2 separate regions of the Homo sapiens genome follow, and region 1 is linked to region 2. The links are contacts of gene promoters, found by promoter capture Hi-C in blood cells and fetal thymus (Javierre and others, 2016). All regions are on one chromosome and are shown on one strand. The core of a region is centred on a gene start or on the middle of the fragment in contact, and the rest is flanking DNA. Distances in the headings are between cores, read along the strand shown. Region 1 holds the start of H4C9 (H4 clustered histone 9). Region 2 holds the start of HFE (homeostatic iron regulator).

What was found. Contacts are between HindIII fragments. The CHiCAGO score rates a contact against its expected background, and 5 or more counts as called.
Region 1: a contact is called between the fragment with the promoter of H4C9 here and the fragment with the promoter of HFE in region 2, in 2 of 17 cell types (naive B cells and total B cells). The highest score is 5.5, in naive B cells.

Annotation. Positions count from the first base shown.
Region 1 is chr6:27,136,166-27,141,221 of GRCh38, reverse strand. H4C9 (H4 clustered histone 9) reads right to left here and starts at 1,940. Exons shown (of 1, transcript NM_003495.3): 1 at 1,544-1,940. The coding sequence starts at 1,913. The coding sequence ends at 1,602. It also overlaps a transcript of H2BC12 not described here. RefSeq lists enhancers at 800-1,391, 1,392-1,984, 1,747-2,126. The HindIII fragment of the contact is 1,035 bases long and covers 1,549-2,583 here.
Region 2 is chr6:26,085,878-26,090,851 of GRCh38, reverse strand. HFE (homeostatic iron regulator) reads right to left here and starts at 3,423. Exons shown (of 6, transcript NM_000410.4): 1 at 3,336-3,423; 2 at 1-11. The coding sequence starts at 3,411. It also overlaps HFE-AS1. The HindIII fragment of the contact is 3,203 bases long and covers 606-3,808 here.

The DNA.
Region 1 (5,056 bases), core at 691-3,190, 1.1 Mb before region 2:
TTTAGGTATTGTTAATCATTGCTTATTTAGAAAGTAAGATCAATCTTTTATCAGGTCTTCCCTTAGCTCGCTCTTGATGCTACTCTTACAGCGATTTCAGAAAAGCCTTACTATCCAATTCAAGCCAAATCAGGACATAAGCCGCCTAAATGTTTTTTGTTTTTTTTTTTTCCCCCAGATTGATGCCTGTAGCTCCTGGGGAAAGTGGAAGTCAGATAACTCCTTTATGAAAAGGCAGCATTCAAAAACTATAAAAAATATAAATCCAACATTATTAAAATTTTGCACATCCAAAGATATCACGAACAGTTAAAAACAAACCCACAAGGTGACAGAATATATTTGTCACATACTGACAAAAAGTTAAAACTCAAATATATAAAGAATATTTACAAATCAAATCTCATAAAATAAAAACTGTAGAGAATCTGAATAGACCATTCCGAGGAAAGCGGGAAAATCTCCAAATAGCCAAAAATCTCATTTAGAAAAACTCCGATTTCACATTAGGAAATGCTGATAAACAATAACTCTCAAGCACTGCTGGTGGAATATGGGAGTATAAATTTAAAATACTACCCTGGAAAGCAAATTGTTCATTTTTATTCATGTTGAATATGCACATTTACCAAATAATTCCACTTCCATGTAACCAGAAAATGCACAGCTGTATACAGTGCTGTTTTGTAATGAGGAAAAAAAATCAACAGAGAAATGAATAAAGTATTTACTGACACATTAGAAAACTAGATTAATGGTAAAAATAACCTAGAACTGCACATTTCAACACGGATATATTTCAAGAGCAAATGTAAAAATTCATGACGATTAAAATAGATTAGGGGTATGTGCATCTAAAGTTAAAACGCGTGGGAACAGTAAACAAATTTAGAATATCAGTTTATCCTAGAATATTAGTTAATTCTAGATAGGAAAAAGGGAGGGCTGTGCTACTGAGAAAGGGACATAAGGATTTTAGATGCACTTGAATAAGTGGTGTGGTCACCAGCGCATTTTGTATACTTGATATATTCCAGTATTTAAAAGGCAAACATATAAAGGAATATTATTACTAAGACTCTTAAGACTGCCCTACTGTTCTACAGTAGTAAAAGCATGGTCTGTCCCCCTCCCCCCCATGCAGAGCTCTGTGCCCGCCAAGTCCTCTTAAACCAGCCACCACGAAGTTTTCCTGGAGGTTCTAGCATTTAGTGGAGCCCATCAAACTCATTATCTCCTGAGACGTATTTGAAGGTCCAGAGGGAAGTTAATTATCTAGCCCGCCCCTATTTGGACCGCAGACCCCTTGGCTTTCTAAACTAATCCGAGCGGTAAACCGGCTGCAGGCAATTTCCAGGCAGCCGCCAGAAGTTACTGGCCAGCAGAGGCTCTTCTGGCCTTGGAAAAATCTCGGCCCAAGGTCACCTGTAGTCATCAGCCCATTTTCGGCGTCGAGTTAATCTTGTAAAATAGGATGACAGAACTCACTGACAATGGCCCTATTAAGAGACTCAGTTTGCAGTCATTTCAACTCTTTTGTTGAAAGCTTAGGGGCCCTAAAAAGGGCCTTTTTAGAGAATGACTGGGCTTCAAAATGCCATTTAGCCGCCGAAGCCATAGAGGGTGCGGCCCTGGCGCTTGAGCGCGTAGACCACGTCCATGGCGGTGACCGTCTTGCGCTTGGCGTGCTCCGTGTAGGTCACGGCGTCCCGGATCACGTTCTCCAGGAACACCTTCAACACTCCGCGGGTCTCCTCATAGATGAGGCCAGAAATGCGCTTCACGCCGCCGCGGCGAGCAAGGCGCCGAATGGCTGGCTTGGTGATACCCTGGATGTTGTCGCGCAGCACCTTGCGGTGGCGCTTGGCACCCCCTTTCCCCAGGCCCTTACCTCCTTTGCCGCGTCCTGACATTATCAAGTGGTCAGAGAACAAAGGTCTGCTGCCTGTGATGGCAGCTTTCTTTTATGGGTAACCTCTGCGGACCAGACTGAAAACCGGAAGAGCTTTGGCGGGAAGTCCCTCTGCATTGGGGGAGGGGACCTAAAAGGGAAACAGGCCTGCTGTGCTCTACTCCCTCTTGTTCTCCTTCAGTCCTTTTTAATCCTCAAGACCTAGGCTGTTTTTCCTTTTTTCATTTAACATGATTCCTGCCTCATAACAAAAATGTTAACATTATAGAAGATACATAAAGCAAAAAGAATGTTATCTCTGCATATATGCATGTTTTCCTTTAACATTATTTGTATGGAACTATGCTATTTTGTGGCATTTTTCTCCTTAATATACAATGGAAATATACTCCATATGCTAAATTCCTAGCAATAGAACAAGATAGACTCATAGAATTTAAAGATCGTTCAGGTATATTGCTAAGTTCTTTTCTACTTATTTTCATTTCTAGTGTTTGGGGTGGAGAATTATCCCCCCAAATATCGAGCTTGGTAATGGTGGGTGTTTTTGAAAATTGAGGGTTCTCAGAAACAAGTCTAAGAATCAAGGTCCCTCTAACTTTGTCCTGTTTCTCTTCCCCAAATACAGGGAGGGACTTTCTCTGGAATTTCCTGATATGACCAAGAAAGCTTCTTATCAAAAGAAGCACAATTGCCTTCGGTTACCTCATTATCTACTGCAGAAAAGAAGACGAGAATGCAACCATACCTAGATGGACTTTTCCACAAGCTAAAGCTGGCCTCTTGATCTCATTCAGATTCCAAAGAGAATCATTTACAAGTTAATTTCTGTCTCCTTGGTCCATTCCTTCTCTCTAATAATCATTTACTGTTCCTCAAAGAATTGTCTACATTACCCATCTCCTCTTTTGCCTCTGAGAAAGAGTATATAAGCTTCTGTACCCCACTGGGGGGTTGGGGTAATATTCTGTGGTCCTCAGCCCTGTACCTTAATAAATTTGTATGCCTTTTCTCTTATTAATCTTGTCAGTTGATTTTCAGTGAACTTTCAGAGGCCAAAAGGGAGGTTTTCTCTTGGCCCCTGCACCAGTAGCAGTTCCTGATATGCCTACAACCTTAACTAATGCTGGGTAGAACCATTTAAAGTAATCTAACTTTACTAATAAGGACTTGATTTCTTGTATATAGAAATAACTTTTCAAAAAGTTAATCAGTTGGTTAGTCAGCACAATACATTAACTATTTCCCCCACTGATTTGAGGAACTTATTATCATATACTGAATATATGAGCCACCGCACCCGGCCCATTTGGTGATTTTCTTGCTACTCTTTATTTTAATGAGTACCTTACAGCAGTGCTTGAAGTATTTTCAAAGTATTCCACTTAAATGTCATAAAGTAAATGAAGATAAACTTTTCATTAAAATACTTTAGAAATTTTTGCATTTATGTTGCAATAAAAGAAAACTTGCCATACACCTTTGGAAAACAAAAAAAAATTGATATGACTGGCTGTAACTTGCTGTAGCTGAATTCAGTATATGTTGTAAAGAGGGTAAGGTAGCATAGGTTAATTGAATACGTTAATCTAAGGGTAAATACAAATTAAAAATGAGAGGCTTAATTATCTGTTGAAAACAAAAGACTTCCCTTTCCTTTCCCATCACTTTCAAAATGTCTTTCTCTGTCCTTTTAAAATGTATGTAAATCCTTTTAATGGCTAAATAGGCCTTATAACTCAGAATATTTTCTCAATGCCTGGAGAGCCATCCCTTTGAAATGTTAATCATTAAAAAAGATAGTGGTCTGTCTCCCAGTTTCCAGCGAGAAAATGGGCTGAACTTTAGCTGTCACCTGACTTCGAATTGCAAAACCTATCCAATGTAGCCATACATAATAAGCAAGATTTCTTTCTGCTTTTGCAACCTCTTCATAAGGTTTCCTGTGATAAGCAACTCTCCCTGGTTTAATGCTTATTCAATAATAAAATTATTTCCTTTGTCTTCTTTGGGAGAAGATTTTAAAATTGTATTTCCCCAACATTAGTTAACAAGTATATTTCTCTACTTGAGCTTCTCACTAATCAGAAGCCTTTTTCTGTATCTGATTTCATGAGTTTTCGCATAGCAATTAGTGACAAGGATAGCAATGAATGGTAAAAGGTGGCAGAGCATGCCATCCCAAAATATGCCATTTTGGAATAAGAATTATTCTGAGATACAGGCAATTTTAAAAAGAGTAGGTACAAGAAAGGCACTTTGACCGTTCCCTTTTACCCCCTTAAAAGCAGGAATTAAAATTCCCCTGTGGAAGATGTCCTCCCTGTACCAAAAGGAAAAGAACATTTTCATCAAGGACAGGAAGTTGAAACCAAGAGAATTCTGTCCAAGCAGATCTTAAAATAATTCTTGTTTTCCTTTAGCCTTCCTACATAGTTACATTTCCACAATTTACTCCATTCAACCTACTATAAAAGCATTTAGGTTTTGCTACTTCTTTGGGGTCTATTATTAGAGCTCCCATGTCCCATGCCACATAAAATTTATATTAAATTTATATGGTTTTCTCCTCTTAATCTTATGTCAGTTTAATTATCAGGCCAGCCATAAAAACTCTTAAGAGGACAGAGGTAAAATTTTGCCTCCCCTACAAGGATATTTGAGTTTGTCAGACTCTTTAGTTTCTGAAATTGACGGTAAATTTAGTTCTGAAATAGTAAACATACACGCAGTATAACATTTTAAAAAAATGTTATGCTAATCAGTCTGTTTTCTAACAGGATAACTGACTATCAAGATAAACTTAGTTCAAATAGAGTAACTCTGAGTTCTCACATTCTTTCACATTACAAAACAAATCTGGCAGCAAACTTTGTCAGAGGCGTTTAAACCAGAGAAACTCCATCTTGAATAGGGGCTGGGTAAAATAAGGCTGAGGCCTACTGGGCTGCATTCCCAGAGGCTTAAGGCATTTGTAGTCACAGAATAGGTCAGCACAAAGTACAGGTCACAAAGACCTTGCTAATAAAAGCATGCGGTAAAGAAGCCAGCCAAAACCTACCAAAATCAAGATGGTGAGGAAATTGACCTCTGGTTATCCTCACTGCTCATTATACACTACTTATAATGCATTAGCATGCTAAA
Region 2 (4,974 bases), core at 2,174-4,673:
AGAGTGTGAACCTGGAGACAGAGCAACAGGCCTTAACCATGTGTAGTAGGAGGGGAGCAGGATGTTGAGGCTCCACACACCTGCATCAACTCATACCATCAGCTGTGTCTGGTCCTCATTTTGTGAAGGGTGAGTTGCAGTCCTGTCTTTCTTCCATATGACAGTCCTGGGTGCTCTTTCCTTGTGTGCTTTTCTCTGCCACACGTGGCTGCCACCCCCTCACTGCCCCCAGATCCTATTCCAATACTCATGATTAGACAGACTCCACTAAAGCTGGTGGATTCTAGAAAATGTTAAGGTGTGTCTAGCCATGGTAGTTGAACTCAGGAGTTGGTGCTCAGGGCAAATTAGACCCAAATCCTGAGGAATAATTCCTTCAGTTTTTTTTTTTTTTTTTTTTTTTTTTTTTGAGACAGAGTCTCACTCTATCACCCAGGCTGGAGTGCAGTGGCACAATCTCAGCTCACTGCAACCTGCACCTCCTGGGTTCAAGGGATTCTCCTACCTAAGCCTCCTGAAAACCTGGGACTATAGGCGTGCGCCACCACACCAGGCTAATTTTTGTATTTTTAGTAGACATGGGGTTTCACCATGTTGGCCAAGCTTGTCTCAAACTCCTGACCTCAAATGATCTACCTGCCTCAGCCACCAAAGTGCTGGGATTACAGAAGTGAGCCACCGTGCCCAGCCTTGGTCCTGAATTCTTACACTGAACTGCCTATGTGGCCTCACCACTTGGAAGCCTGACTGGAATCTCAAACTTAACATGTCCAAATGCAGATCCTTGATTTACCCCAAACTGCTCTTTCCTCTGCCTTCACCATCTCAGAAATGGCATTGCCAATTACCCCACTGCTCAGGCCAATAAAATTAAAATAAAGAACAAAGTCAACTTTAACTCTTCTCTTTTTCAGGGGGTCAGGGGAGACAGGGTCTTGCTCTGTCACCTAGGCTGAAGTACAGTGGCACAGTCATGGCTCACTGCAGCCTCAACTTCCTGGGCTCAAGCAATACCCTCCACCTCAGCCTCCCGAGTAGCTAGGATCACAGGTGCATGCCACCACACCCAGCTAATTTTTGTATTTTTTGTAGAGAAGGGGTTTTGCTGTGTTGCCCAGGCTGGTCTTGAACTCCTGAGCTCAGGAATCTGCTCTCCTTGGCCTCCTCCTTGGCATGAGCTACTACACCCAGCCAATTCTTCTCTTTCTCTCACACAACATAGAATCCTTCAGCAACTTCCTTCAGAATATATTCAGGAGACAATGGTTTGTCACTCCCTTTTCTGTTCCCACCCAGCCCACTCCACTACCTCTTGCCTGGACTGTGTAACAGCTTCCTGGCTGGGCTCCCTGCTTTTACTGTTGCTCCCTTCATTCTGCTTTCCACATAGCAGCCAGAGCAATCTTTTAAAAGCCTGTGACAGATCACTGTTACTCCTTGGCTAGAATTCACACCACAGCCTACAGGCGCCTGCACAACCTTGTTTGTGGCTCCTCTTCTGAGCCCATTACCTACTTCTTGGCCTCTACTCCCCAGCACTACTTGTTTATTTTTTTCAACCCGAGCTTCTTAACCAGGAGTTTGTCTACTAGGTGACATGTGGCAAAGTTTAGAGACATTTTTGGTTGTCAAGACTGGGGGAGTGCTCCTAGCACCTAGTGAGTAGGGAGGACAGGATACTGCTAGACATCCTACATGCAGATGGTAGTCCCCCTTCCCACCCCCACGCCGCCCCCCCCCCCCACACACACACACATGAGTAGTGCTGAGAAAACCCGCTTTTTAATCCAACTTGCCAGGCCCACTCAGTTTGCCTGGGAAATACTGCTCCCAGTCAATATCATTCTTATTTCCTTCATGTCTCTGCTCAAGTGTCAGCCCCAGAGTGACTTGCCCTGACTTCTCTGCTTCTCACAACACCCATGATTTCCTGATGTTGTATATCTTTCTGCTCATTTGCTTATTGTCATCTCTCCCACTAGAATGCAAAATATCAAAGGGTAAAGACTTGTTTCCCTGCTCTCTCCCTTGGGGCTTGAACAGTGCAACACATGGCTGGGACTCATTTACACTTGTAAACAATGAATATTTCTGCTCAACATGAAATTTTATTATTCAACCTCTAATGCAGTGTGATGTTTAAGAATCATAGCTATGAAGTGGAGACATGAGCTCTGCCACCAAAGCCCAGTGTACCATTGAATAAATTTGCCAGGAAGCAGGCCGTGCCATGCCTCATTCTTGTCATGTGTAAAATGTGGATACACGTAGTACCAAAACTCAAAGTGCTGTGCTGAGGCCGGCGTGTGACCCACAGAACACTGTGCTACACTACAGGGCAAAATCACTGTCAACTAAGATTAGAAGCAGCTGTAGTACTTGAAATAACATCAGAAAACCAGATTATTTATGTTCTTTGTAACCTGAAAAGAGTTATATAATCTGAATTCCAGTTAACTTCTAGTAAAATAAACGTATTATTAGCTCCTACCTCCCTATGCCTAGTGAAAATCAAATAAGATCAGATATGAATGTAACTTAGAAGTGAGTGCATTGCTTACATGTTCATTATCAGTACTTTGTAGAGAGGCCTCTTAATTACACAGCACATTGCAAATCAATAAAGCCTAGCCGAAAAGAGAATTGTTCAGTTCAAACGTTCAAAACTAACATATACTTAATTTTCCAGGCAAAAGAACAATTGCCAAGAGTGGGGAAAGGCCCGAGGTAGGCCTCTCTCAGGAGCCTCCCACCCTAGAGACCTCCACCCCAGGTCTCACCAAAAGTGGGTGGAATGGTGAAGAATTCAGATCCCCAACGCCACTCTTTCGCGCCCCCACCGCCCAACGCATTCGTTCTGAGGTGGAAACCCCGTGCGGATCCTGCTGTGGGTTTGCTCAGCCTTCTCGGCAAGCACTCAGGGAAGAACTTCCTGTTTGGAGATGACTGGGGAAAAAACTGCACAGCTGACATTGGAAATAAACCCGAGTTCCAGGTTCAAGGAGCCCCAGGCTTAGCTCAGCTCAAGTGAGGAACTACGAGATTTATTTAAAAGCATTCTAGTTGGGGGAAGGGAGTGGGCGGTTCCAAAAGTCACTCCGCAGAGCCGGGACAGCCGGGGGAGGGGGCAGGTCCTGGGGCGAGGGACCCCTATCTGCAGTTCAGTGGTAGGCACTCCCTCACGGGGTCTGGACGCAGAAAGTAGGGAGAGGGGCTTGCGGATAGGGTTGAGCAGGTCCTCCAAAGTTAGCAAACTCCCAAGCGCAAAGAAAAAGCTAGTTTCGATTTTTCCACCCCCGCCGCGCCCCTAGTTCGCCCGCAGCCCTCGGACTCACGCAGCAAGCGCCCCTGCAGGACCGCGGTCTGCAAAAGCATCAGGAGGAGAAGCGCCGGCCTGGCTCGCGGGCCCATTTCCCCAGCTCTGGCCGCACGTCCCCGTTAAATCTCCGCTTCTTTTGGGGGGCGGGGAAACGGGGATGGCTCCAGAAGTCACCCTACAGCTATTGCCTAGGCTCAGGAGATGCCCAGTAAAACTTCCTGGTGAAAAGCAACAGGTCTTTCAGAACTTTAGTTCTCTCTCTCCTACAGCAGAAGGTACCTGCTTGTGAAACACTAGGTGATCCAGTGTCCCCCTTGGTTTTTAAATCCTGAAGGGGTGTTGTTGATTGGGGAAAGTAGCTTCGCAATGTTCTGATCTGAACTTTAGATATTTAAATATTTATGATTTTCAAAATTCAATCATACATTTAAAAATTTTATCTCAACCTTAGACCAACTTATGTCTTATTTGACTTAGAAATATAAAGCTTTTTCATTTTGTTTTTTGATTCAAATTAATTAAGTCATAACATTAACCAATTAGATCCTACTGAAACACCTTCCACAGCCTTCATAATTGAATTATCTGACAAGTGTTTCACAAACTTTACAGTATTGGGATTATCTGGAGAATGATTAAACATATTGAGGCCTGCTCCTAACCCCAGACACACTGATTTAATGGGTAATTGTTAGGTAGTTAGACATTAGCAGTTGGGAGGGGATGACAGAAGAGAGCGGAAAGGCTGTCACTAAGACAGCCACTGGCCCACCTAAATTCAGGCCCAAGACTACCCTAATGCCACCCTAAGGGATGGAGTTTATGATAAAGTCTGTGGCCAAAATATCCTGGAGAAAGAGAAAGGAGGGTACAGGTGGAAATTCCCTAAGGTGGCACATGCCCAACAACACAAAAGCCTGTCTTCAAGTTCACCCCAAGTTCATCATGCCATCATTATAATAGAATTTACATACAGTTTTGCCCCCCCATCCCTGGGAGGCTTTTCTTAACAAATTATAGGTAAGACCATGCACAGTTTAATTTTAGATTGTATAGCTATACACTTCAATCAAATAACATCATCCTGTCACTCAGATACAGCCCAAACCTCAACTCCTCCCCACAAACCCCATAAAAGCACCTTGAGCTCTGTAAAGAAGTGCTGAGTTCACTTCGCAGAAATAAGCCCGCTGTCCCTCAGAGTGTATTATTGTGCTTCAATAAACTTTGCTTTAAGCTTGCATTTTGGTGTTAGTTTGTAGTTCTTTGCTCACTATCACAAGAACTGAGATTGCTGGTTCAGAGCTCCGGCTATAATAATCTCCTCGGTTAAAGGATCCATCCCAATGCATAATTCCCAGTAACAGTATGGGATGCCACCTGGGCAATGGGATTTTAAAAGCTTTCCTTCTCCCTCAACGAAGTTTGGGAATTATTGCCTTAGACATTTCAAACAATATTAATAAATTTAATACACCTGATTTGCTCCAAACCTTTACATATCTAGCAAATTCAACAGGCATTATTTTTGTAAGCATGTATGCAAATTTTGGCAATTCAAGAAAATCAAACAGGATATCAGGGCCTCGACTGTAGGCAAACAGATACAATAACATTGGAAACATGTAGAATATTGATGATGGGCACATTGGGGC